Regions from separate parts of the Homo sapiens genome. Here region 2 is linked to region 1. The links are contacts of gene promoters, found by promoter capture Hi-C in blood cells and fetal thymus (Javierre and others, 2016). All regions are on one chromosome and are shown on one strand. Each heading gives the region's core, a stretch centred on a gene start or on the middle of the fragment in contact. The rest is flanking DNA. Distances are from core to core; before and after follow the strand shown. Region 1 holds the start of WNT3 (Wnt family member 3). Region 2 overlaps GOSR2 (golgi SNAP receptor complex member 2).

What was found. The method cuts DNA at HindIII sites, captures the fragments that hold promoters and counts their contacts. A CHiCAGO score of 5 or more calls a contact.
Region 2: a fragment that was not itself captured here is called in contact with the fragment with the promoter of WNT3 in region 1 in 3 of 17 cell types (M0 macrophages, megakaryocytes and erythroblasts); the score reaches 6.5 in M0 macrophages.

The regions. Positions count from the first base shown.
Region 1 is chr17:46,817,296-46,821,819 of GRCh38, forward strand. WNT3 (Wnt family member 3) reads right to left here and starts at 1,397. Exons shown (of 5, transcript NM_030753.5): 1 at 1,223-1,397. The coding sequence starts at 1,302. It also overlaps a transcript of LRRC37A2 not described here. RefSeq lists an enhancer at 2,452-3,039. The HindIII fragment of the contact is 21,295 bases long and covers 1-4,524 here.
Region 2 is chr17:46,936,433-46,941,166 of GRCh38, forward strand. GOSR2 (golgi SNAP receptor complex member 2) reads left to right here. Exons shown (of 6, transcript NM_004287.5): 6 at 2,167-4,734. The coding sequence ends at 2,328. It also overlaps a transcript of LRRC37A2 not described here. Among named protein-coding and RNA genes, the nearest start is that of GOSR2, 16 kb to the left of the region's middle. The HindIII fragment of the contact is 3,294 bases long and covers 1,772-4,734 here.

The DNA of each region.
Region 1 (4,524 bases), core at 147-2,646:
CACTTCTTTCTGACTTTCACCCCGGGGGCCACAGCCCACTTCTCACTCACAGATCCCAAATTCTTCCTCCTCACCTCCCCCCGCCCAGGCCAAGGCTCTCCTATGTCCAGGAGGGGAAGATTCTTTAATTAAAGTTTTCCGGAATGTAGGGGGCTGGAGACTGGGGAGAGGCGGAGTGTAATTTAGAGAACTGGTTTCAGTGTCTTCCCCTCTGGCCCCTGGGACCTGCGGAGGGTGGGAGAGCGGCGATGGGGCCGCTCGGAAAACAAGGGGACTCCTGGAGCTGGGGCTCCCAAAGCGATGTTTATTCCTCACCCAGGCCCCCCAGACACGCACAGCCCCCCCCAAGCACTGCTCCCGGCTTCCCAGTCTTATTTACTAAAATGTCTTTTGTATCCACATTTCTCAGGGACGGAATTCTCCCTTCCCTCTCCCTTTCTCCTCGGTCCTCGGTTTTCCAAAAGGAAGAAATGTGACATGGAGAATTGGATTTTTGGTCAAAGAACAACAAGCCTACCCCTCCCAGACAACACATTTTCAAGGAACCCCCCTTTTGCCAGGGTGGACAAGCAAGAAATGAATAAAATCCGAATTCAATGGCATCCCGGATCAGCAAATACCATATTCACTTCAGAGGCTCAAGATGAATCTAGAGCGGTGGGGAGAATCTGATGAAATCCCCCCACCCACTCCCCTGCCCCGGGAGGAGCCCTGAAGCCTTTGGGGTCTGAAATAGGAAGGCAAAGGGGGGTTATTATGGGGAATCTCTTGATGGAGGCGCCGGCAGAGGTGGGGTGGCAGTGAAGGAACAGGATGGTTTTGCCCATGAAGACCCCAAAATGGAGAAGAGGAGTGGCTGGGCCCCAGGGACAGTGCTGGATTTCCAGAAACCCAACTGCAAGCAAATGGGGGGTCTTCGGGGGCCTCTAGATTGGGACGGGCAGAGGGTTAGGATCTAAGAATAAGAAACCTTCTGAGATGGGAAAAGTCCTCCAGCCCCTGCAGCGGGGAGCAGGGAAAATGGTGATTATCAGAGGAGCCAGGAGTTGGATTCTGAAGGCGACACCAGCAGAAAATCCAGGAGGGGTGGGCGGGTGGGGGGCTGGAGGGAGGCGAGGAGAGGAGCCCCAGCCCTGCAGCGGCCCACCCCCAGCCGGCGCCCCCACCTTCCCCGGACGCGGCGGAGAAACCGGGCCGCGGGCAGACAAGAGGCGAGTCTTACCACCAAATTGGGTAGCCAGCGAGGACCCTGGTGCCACCGAGCAGGAGGCCGAGGAGCAGCCCGAGCAGGTGGGGCTCCATTAGAAGAGGCGCCGAGGAGGAAGTTTGCCCGCGACCATGAAGAGGGGGAGCGACGCCCCCAATAGTTGGAACAAAGTCCACTTGAGATTGGAAATGACTTTCGGGCTTGTCAGAAGCGCACCTCCACCCGCAGCCGCCCCCCTCCCGAGCCCAGCGCGGAGCAGCCGGGTTTGAGGATGTCAGCGAGCAGCCAATCAGCGCCCGCGGCCTAAGGTAAGAGATGAGTCTGTAGTTCAGCCTGTCAATCACGCGCCCCTCCCGCCCGGCCCACAACTCGGGCTCCGGGAAGGGCATCGCCCAGCAAACTTGGGCAAAGCCCGCGCCCCGGACGCCGCGGGGCTTCGGGGGGACGCGGTGGGCCGGACCCTCTGCTACCGCCGCGGTCCCCCGCTGGCCAGGGTTAGGGCGCGGGGGCTTTGACCCGGGCGTTCACATGGCGAGGGCTTGGCGTGGGCATGAACGGGTGGCTCCTTTGCTGGCGGGGACCGTGACCCGTTGGGACGTGGGCCCGCGAGGAATCGAGGGTAGAAAGCACAGGGATGTTTCCAGAAGCCCCGCTCGGGCAGGTCAGGATCAGAGGGTGGGGGAACGCACCCCCTCCCAGCTTCCAGCCTCCCGAGTCCGCCCGCTCTCTGGCCTCTCGTCCTGGCCGCGGGAGGTCACTTCCCGGGTGTCCGAGGAACGTGCGGAAAAGTCCGCGGAGGCTCGAAGGTCTGGCTGCGGGCGGCGCCGGGGGACGGAGCCGAGTGTCATTTGAGTCTTTTGTCAGGGATCAGATCGGTATCGGGACCTCCTGCTGCCTTTGCATTTCCTGCAACTGACACCAGCGGCCAGTCGCATTTCCTGCTCTCGGAGTCGGGTCACTTTCTCCTCCTTGAGGGGTTCAGGCCCGACCTCTGGCCCGGGTCGGAGGCGTGACCCACAGCCTCAGTGGGATTCTCGGTTGGACCATCAGGGACCGGTGAAACGCGCAGCTCTGGCCGAGGGCGGCCCAGGTCCTTGGAAGACCTTGCTGCCCTCCGGAGCGCCCCTCACTGCCCGACCGTCCCGCCTGAGGCCCCGGTTCTACTGATAGGGAGCTCCAGCCTGGGGTTTGGCGATAAAGGCCCTTGCCCTGTGCGGACACCAAATGCCTCCAGTTACCCACCCCTCCCCACAGGAAAGGAGTCCTTCCAGGCCCCCTTCGGGCTTGCTTCCTCTCCTCTCCCTCTCCAGAGCGAGGAATTAGGTCTCAGCCCTGGGTGGTATTGACATCATGGTCAGGTTTTGGGGACTCACGCCCGGTCACCTGGGTGCCTTTCCCTAGGCCCCCTCCCAGGCCACCTGAGGCACCAGGACTCTGCGCAGCCCCGGTCTGGGGTGAAGGAAGCACTGCCGGTGGGGAGCAGGGACCGCTGTGTAGGGAACTGTGGCAGAAAGGGCAGAGAATGAGCCGACCCGAGTCCCACAGAGGCCTGGAACGGCGGGCGTTCCACGAGGTGAGGGCCATGGCTGAAGGAAGTCTTACGCCAGGGGGCCAGACATTCCTGGCCTTTGATCTGAGCCCCCCGTACCCACAGCTCCAACCTGCTGCCCCTTCTGGTCGGCGAGCCCTCTCCGCACGCGGCTGCTGCCGGCACAGGGAGCGCGGGGAAATGGCCTCGGGGGCACCAAGGGTCGGGAGAGCCGCCTGGGCTTGTCATGGCTCCTGCTGCGTTCCCAGCCCATTGCTGGACTGGAGGGGGTGGGAGGGGAGGTTGAAAGAGAGGAAGGAAGGGGAGGAAAAGGAGAATCCGAGAGGAGGAGAGAGAGAGAGGGGCTCAGAGATGAGAGAGACGCTGAGACAGAAACCAAGAAAACTGTCGGGGGGAGGCTGAGCCACCGGTGTGAGGAAGAAAGGGGCAGGGGGGAGGCGGAGAGCACCAAGGAGCTGCAAGGCGAAGAAAAATCGTGAACCTGACCAGGAGTGGTGAACCTGGTGGGGGCTGCAGAGATGGGGATCCCTAGAGATGCTCCTCATGGCTGGGCTGATTCTGGGGTGCCCTGTTTCTGATTCACCTGGAAAGAGGGTTACCATTGCCATGAATGCAGAGCCTCAGGACCAAGGCTCTGGCAGTGGAGAGCTTTCCACATACCTCCCTCTTGGATGGAGGCCTGCTAGGTCCTACCTGGAGTCCTGTCCCACCCACAGGGCTCCCAGGTGGCTTTCTGATCAGAGCTGCCTGCTGGAGTCCTGCCCAAGGGCTCGGGAGTTCCAGAGCCCCATGACAGTGGTGCTGAGAGCTGGGGAGGGCTACCTTCCCTGGCCACTCAGACACCACTGTGGATGCAGTATGGTGGGGCGACAGGGCCTGGACTTGATGGCTTCTTGGGGTCATTACTGGGCCTCAAGACTCCACAGGTGCCAACCCTGTGAGGTGGGAGCAAAAGATCCGAGGCTGTCGGTGGGAGTGTGTGTTGGCTGAGATATGCCCAGCCAGCATCCTGGGTGCTGTGGGCAAGAACATCATTCCCTGAGGGGTCATGTGTACCTGAATGCCTCCTCCAGGCAGCCTGGAGAACTCAGACGCAGGTCATGTGCATCAGGCAGGAAACAAGTGGGTTGAAGGGTGGAATCTAGGAGCTGGCCATGTGCGCCTGGGAAGTGACAGAGGAGAGGACTGGAACCTACCAGCGGCCCTGCCAGGCCCCTAGTGAATGGAGGTGTGTGTGGGGATTTCCGCCACTTGAAAGCTCCTCAGACAAGGGGAGCCTGAGTCCCTTCCTTTCCCCCAGGTGTCCTTCCTTCAACACAGGTTTAATTTCCTTCCTCCTGCACCCCTTGCGCTGCCGCGGGTGGAAACGCAGGAATGGTTTCTCTCAGGGGAGGGCGGGCGCCCCTGACCACACATCACAGATAGAAACACCCTCTCTCTAACAGGTACCCCAAGCCCCAGGGTGGTTTCACTTGGTGGAGAAAGGGTTAAATTCACTCCAAGACCAGGAAGGGAGGGCGGGGTGGAGGCATCAGCCGGTGGACCAGGAGGCCATCGCCCTGAAAGGAAGGGTGGTCTCTTGGAAGAGGGCAGAAGAGGCAGCAAGGGCCAGGGACCTGGGGACATGGGGTGGCACGTGGGAAGCACTTTTTGTTGTGTGTGTGAATGTGTGGGACCTTAGACCTGGGAAGGGGACCCCAGTCCCAACCCAACCCCTCTCTCTAGCTGGCTCGGAGGTTCCTTTTGATGTGCACTCCCCCGGGGCTCA
Region 2 (4,734 bases), core at 2,169-4,668, 120 kb after region 1:
TGGCTGGGGGTTGAGACTTGAGGTTTCTAACTTTCCTCTGCACACCTGTGGCTACCTGGTGTTTGTCTCTTGATTCCCTCCACCTGCCTCACACCCTGCCTCCGTCGGGATTTTCCACCTACACCATTCAAAAGGAACATAGGAGAGGGCATGAAGGGGCTAGGCTGAAGCACTCTGATGACTGGGGCCAATTTGTGGCTGAAAATGAATACATTTTTTGAAATTTATGGTCATTTTCAAGTGATTTAGAAGGTTGATCCTTAGCCTCATACAGTGATGAAATAATCTGTGTGTTCAGAGCCAAGCAGGACTTTAGCAAGAGTCTGATTGTATTGTCACTATCTCGGGGAAAAAAAAATACAAATACATTTCTCTGATCTCTGATGGCAATGAAGTTTGACTTGTAATTTCTCTGGCTGAGGCTTCTTAATTGCTTTCTGGGCAGAATGTAGATTTTGGATTCCTGTCCATGATGCCTAATGTTGATCTCACTTTCCTTGTTTCTCTCAGTTGCTCATTAATGTGTATTTATTAAAAAAAAAAAAAAAGGATATGGGGCATGAGGTTAGATGCCATGCATATAAGTTGCAGTGGGTGATATGTGCTGAGTGACTTGGGGTCTGCCCCGGCATTCACTTATACTTGTTTCTTACTAAGAAATTGAATGTGCTTTAAGCTGAAAATTAGAAAGCAGTAGGGAAGGACAGGCTGGATGGTTTGGGTTGTTGGTTTAGGAATAAAATGCCCTTTTGTTTTGGTGGTGGGTGATGCCATCTATAGAAGGGTTTTAGGTCATTGTGTTGGTGTCTTTCCGTCTTTCCCACTTGAGACCCTCTTGTAAATATGGACTTGACCCACCCATTGTACTCAGAAGAAACCTCAAAGATTGTACTCTACAAAGTAAATAGGTTGGTATCAATGATTATTGGAACTAGAGAGCCGAGGACAAGTTTTTTGATGTTGCCTTCTTTTTATAGTATAAAATATTCTAATTTTAAGTATTTTTGTTGAGATATAATTTACAGACAGTAAGGTATACAGATCATATTTTTACAATTCAGTGAATTTGGGCAATTGTATCAGCCTTTGTAACTCACACTCCCATCAAGGCCCGGACCATTTCACCTCTGAAAGATCCCTCGTACCCCTTCCCAGTCAGTTGACCCCTCTGCCCCAGGCAGCCACTGTTGTGATTTATTTCACCATAGATGAGGTTTTCTTGTTATTGAACTTCATATAAAGGTATTCATGCTACTCTTTTCTATGTGGCTTCTTCCTCCCAGTATGTTTCCAAGGTTCATTCATATTGTTACCTATTTAATTCCATGTTGGTAGTCAGGTACTTTTTATTGCAAAGCAGTATTCCATTGGTACAGGTTTACCATAGTTTGTTCATTCATCTTGTGATTAGTGACACCATTGTTTTCAGTATGTATTTATTTATGTATTTTTTGAGACAGGGCCTCCTTCTGCCACCCAGGCTGGAGTGCAGTGGTGTGATCTTGGCTTACTGCAGCCTCGAACTCCTGGGCTCAAGTGGTTCTGTCACCTTAGCCTCGCAAGTAGCTAGAACCACAGGTGCACACCACCACACCTGGCTAATTTTTTTTTGTAGAGAAGGGGTCTTCACTACGTGCCCAGGCTGATCTCGAAATCCTGGCCTCAAGTAATCCTCCCACCCACCCCTCCCAGAGTGCTGGGATTACAGGGATGAGTCCCTGCGCCTGGCCTGTTTGCAGTTTTTAGATATTCTCCTGTGTTTTTTTCTAGAAGCTTTAATTGTGGCTTTAGCTTTTATGTTTAATTCTATGAACCATCTCAAATTAATTTTTATGTATAATGTGAATTGAGGTTCAATTTTTACACACATATCTGTAAGAGAGATACATATATATAAAATACATACCTGTGATATTATATAGTCAGTCGTTCCAGCACCATTTGTGGAAAAGACTTTTCTTTCCACTTAGCGTTGCTCTGGTACCTTGATCAAAAATCAGTCGACGACATGAGAGTGGCTCTATTTCTGGCTGATATTGCTTTCTGTGTATTCTGGGCATGACCAAGAGAATGTCTGTTGGCAAAGCTCCATCTCCTGATGCCATTCACCCACTCTTGGTAAAGCGACTTGATGTTTGTTTTTTTTTCTGTTCTCTTCTGCCCCAGGGGACTCAGAAGAAGATCCTTGACATTGCCAACATGCTGGGCTTGTCCAACACAGTGATGCGGCTCATCGAGAAGCGGGCTTTCCAGGACAAGTACTTTATGATAGGTGGGATGCTGCTGACCTGTGTGGTCATGTTCCTCGTGGTGCAGTACCTGACATGAGCCAGCCACGCTCAGTGGCTGAACAGCATTCCCACAGCCTGCAAGTGTGTGTGTGTGTGAAAGAGAGAGGGGGGCCCAGAGGCCGCCTTTTGAAATGTTTGCCTGTCTGAACTGTGAAGACACTTGGGAGTGATTGTGGTCTAATTTCCAACCTGCTCTGTTTTCTGTGACATCTTGGAGGGGGAGCTAGTGCCACCACCATGCGCGGTGCTTAGGAAATGAAAGAAGTCCCGGGTCTGTCTCTCTCACTCTCGCTCTCACTGGGGGAGGGAAAGAATGGCTTTGGTGGCTTTGTTCACATAGCTGATGCGTGCCCTGGGAAGGTGTCCACAGTGAGCCCTGTGTGCAGGACTGTCCACACGGTTCACACCTTGTCACCATCAGGCCTTTCTGGCTCCTGATAGGGTGGAGCAAAAGTGGAAAGGAAAGGAAAGAGGCCTTTTCTCACAGCCATTATATTAAATAGTAGGTCGATTCACATCCTCGTGCTCCTGGCCACCCTCCCCTGTGCCTCAGTGACATGTAGATGACTGACTGCCAATACTTGTCACCATTCCCTGGAAGCAGCTACCTAGGGGAAACAAGATGTAGTGCTATTGCCGATAACAAGTAAGATTTTCCACACTACAGCTGGGTGTTTCTCTTTTCTAAAGTGAGGCCAGTGTTATTTCCCGGGAGTGTTCAGTCTTGACCCTAGTCACTGATTTTTTCTAGTTGTTAATAGAGTGGTTGGCTTTTAAGGTTCAGAGACTGTGGCTTGGCACCTGCGCCCAGGCTTTGTGGGCCTTTGCCCCTTAGAAAGTAGCTGTAGGCAAAGATTTGTGATTTTCCAATTACAGTCTCAGCTCTAGTTTTAGTATCTCTAATTCTTTGGTTCCCTTCTCTTCCCTGAAATATATTAGCACCTGCCAGCCAGGCCCTCATTTTGCCCAGCCAGTGTGGGCAGATCCCACCGTGGAGACATCTGTAGTGTGTATGTCCTTGTAACACTCTGTTTTCAGGGACTACAACCTTTTTCCTTCTGTGACCAGCCCCGGATTCAGGCTGTACTAATACCAGGTATATTGTGGAATTTAGTATAAAGGCCAATCTGTCCTGAAGTCCATCTAATGTGGTGAATCACTGAAAGTCTCAGAAAGACCTGGTTAGTGTATGTTCTCATTTACCACAGGCCTACCAGCCCTGGGCACAGCAGCTTCATGGCAAGACATAAAATGACACTCAAAATCCTTCAGATCTGGAAACCGGCTCAGTATTAACCCTACCTTTGGTTGTCCTGCCCTACCTGCTCTGTTAGTTTCTTGTTGCTTGAACTGTCTTCTGTCTTATTTCCCTTCCTTTCTGTGTTCCTCTTCACCTCTCTTGTTCCCCTCCCCGCTGCTCTGTAGTCATGTTGGTCCTTTCAGGCACCTCTGTGGCATAGCTCCCCTTTGGTAAGTTTTCTTAATTGTCATAGATTAACTGAGTTTCCTGGATGCTAATTTCACACTTTCGGTTGGAGGAGATCTCCATTGTTCCTACCCCTCCGGGCCAAATGGGCCCCAGGTTTCCAAGGAAGGAGCAATCTGTGACTCCTAAAATGGGTTGGGGCCCTGCCAGAGTTAAAGCAGTGACTGGAGGGTGGACTGGGGGGTTGCAGCATCTTTAGACCTAGATCTGTCTAACTCTGGGGAGGCACATTGACATTTCCATTACACACAGCACTGCTGCGGTGCCAGGGACCTAGCGCAGGACTTTTGGTAATCCATAAAATGGATTCTGAGACTGCGACGGCAAGGCTGTCCTGTCCCCCAGGCACCCAAGGATCCTGCCAGACAGCACACTTTGGAGGAAGGTCTGCAGGGAGCAGCTGAGCCATTTGTTCTTGAACTCTGGGAGGCAGAAGTCCCCGCACCCATCATGCGTGGACTGATAGGACATCTTTTCGTGGTGTGCACCAGTGCTTTCCACACTTGACAGTGGTTGGCTTTGATGAACCCTCATGCTGCACCTTCAGAGCCAGTCCTCTAGTTTGGAATAAAAATTGCAGAGGTGGTTTTTGGGTCTTTACCACCTGCGGCTGGTGGACAGCAGCCAGTGTGTCTGGACACCCAGGGGCATTGAGACTGCATGTTGTCACATGACCACTTCTCTTCACACATCTGCTTTCAGTGCCTGGTGAAAAATAGACCTTGGCCTAACAGTGTGACTCTCTCCACCGCCTCAGTGTAGGGAAGGGTCCAGGCCAGGGAAGGAGCACCCTCTAGTGGAGGCGGGGGTGAATTCTTAGGTCGAGCTGATGCAAGAAACTCCGGTAGCCAGCCTCTGTGACCTTGTACATGAGTTTGGTGTGCCTATTGTGATTTAAAACAGGTGGGTTATCAAGAGGAACTTGAGATCTCTTTATTACATGGACATTTACTTCAG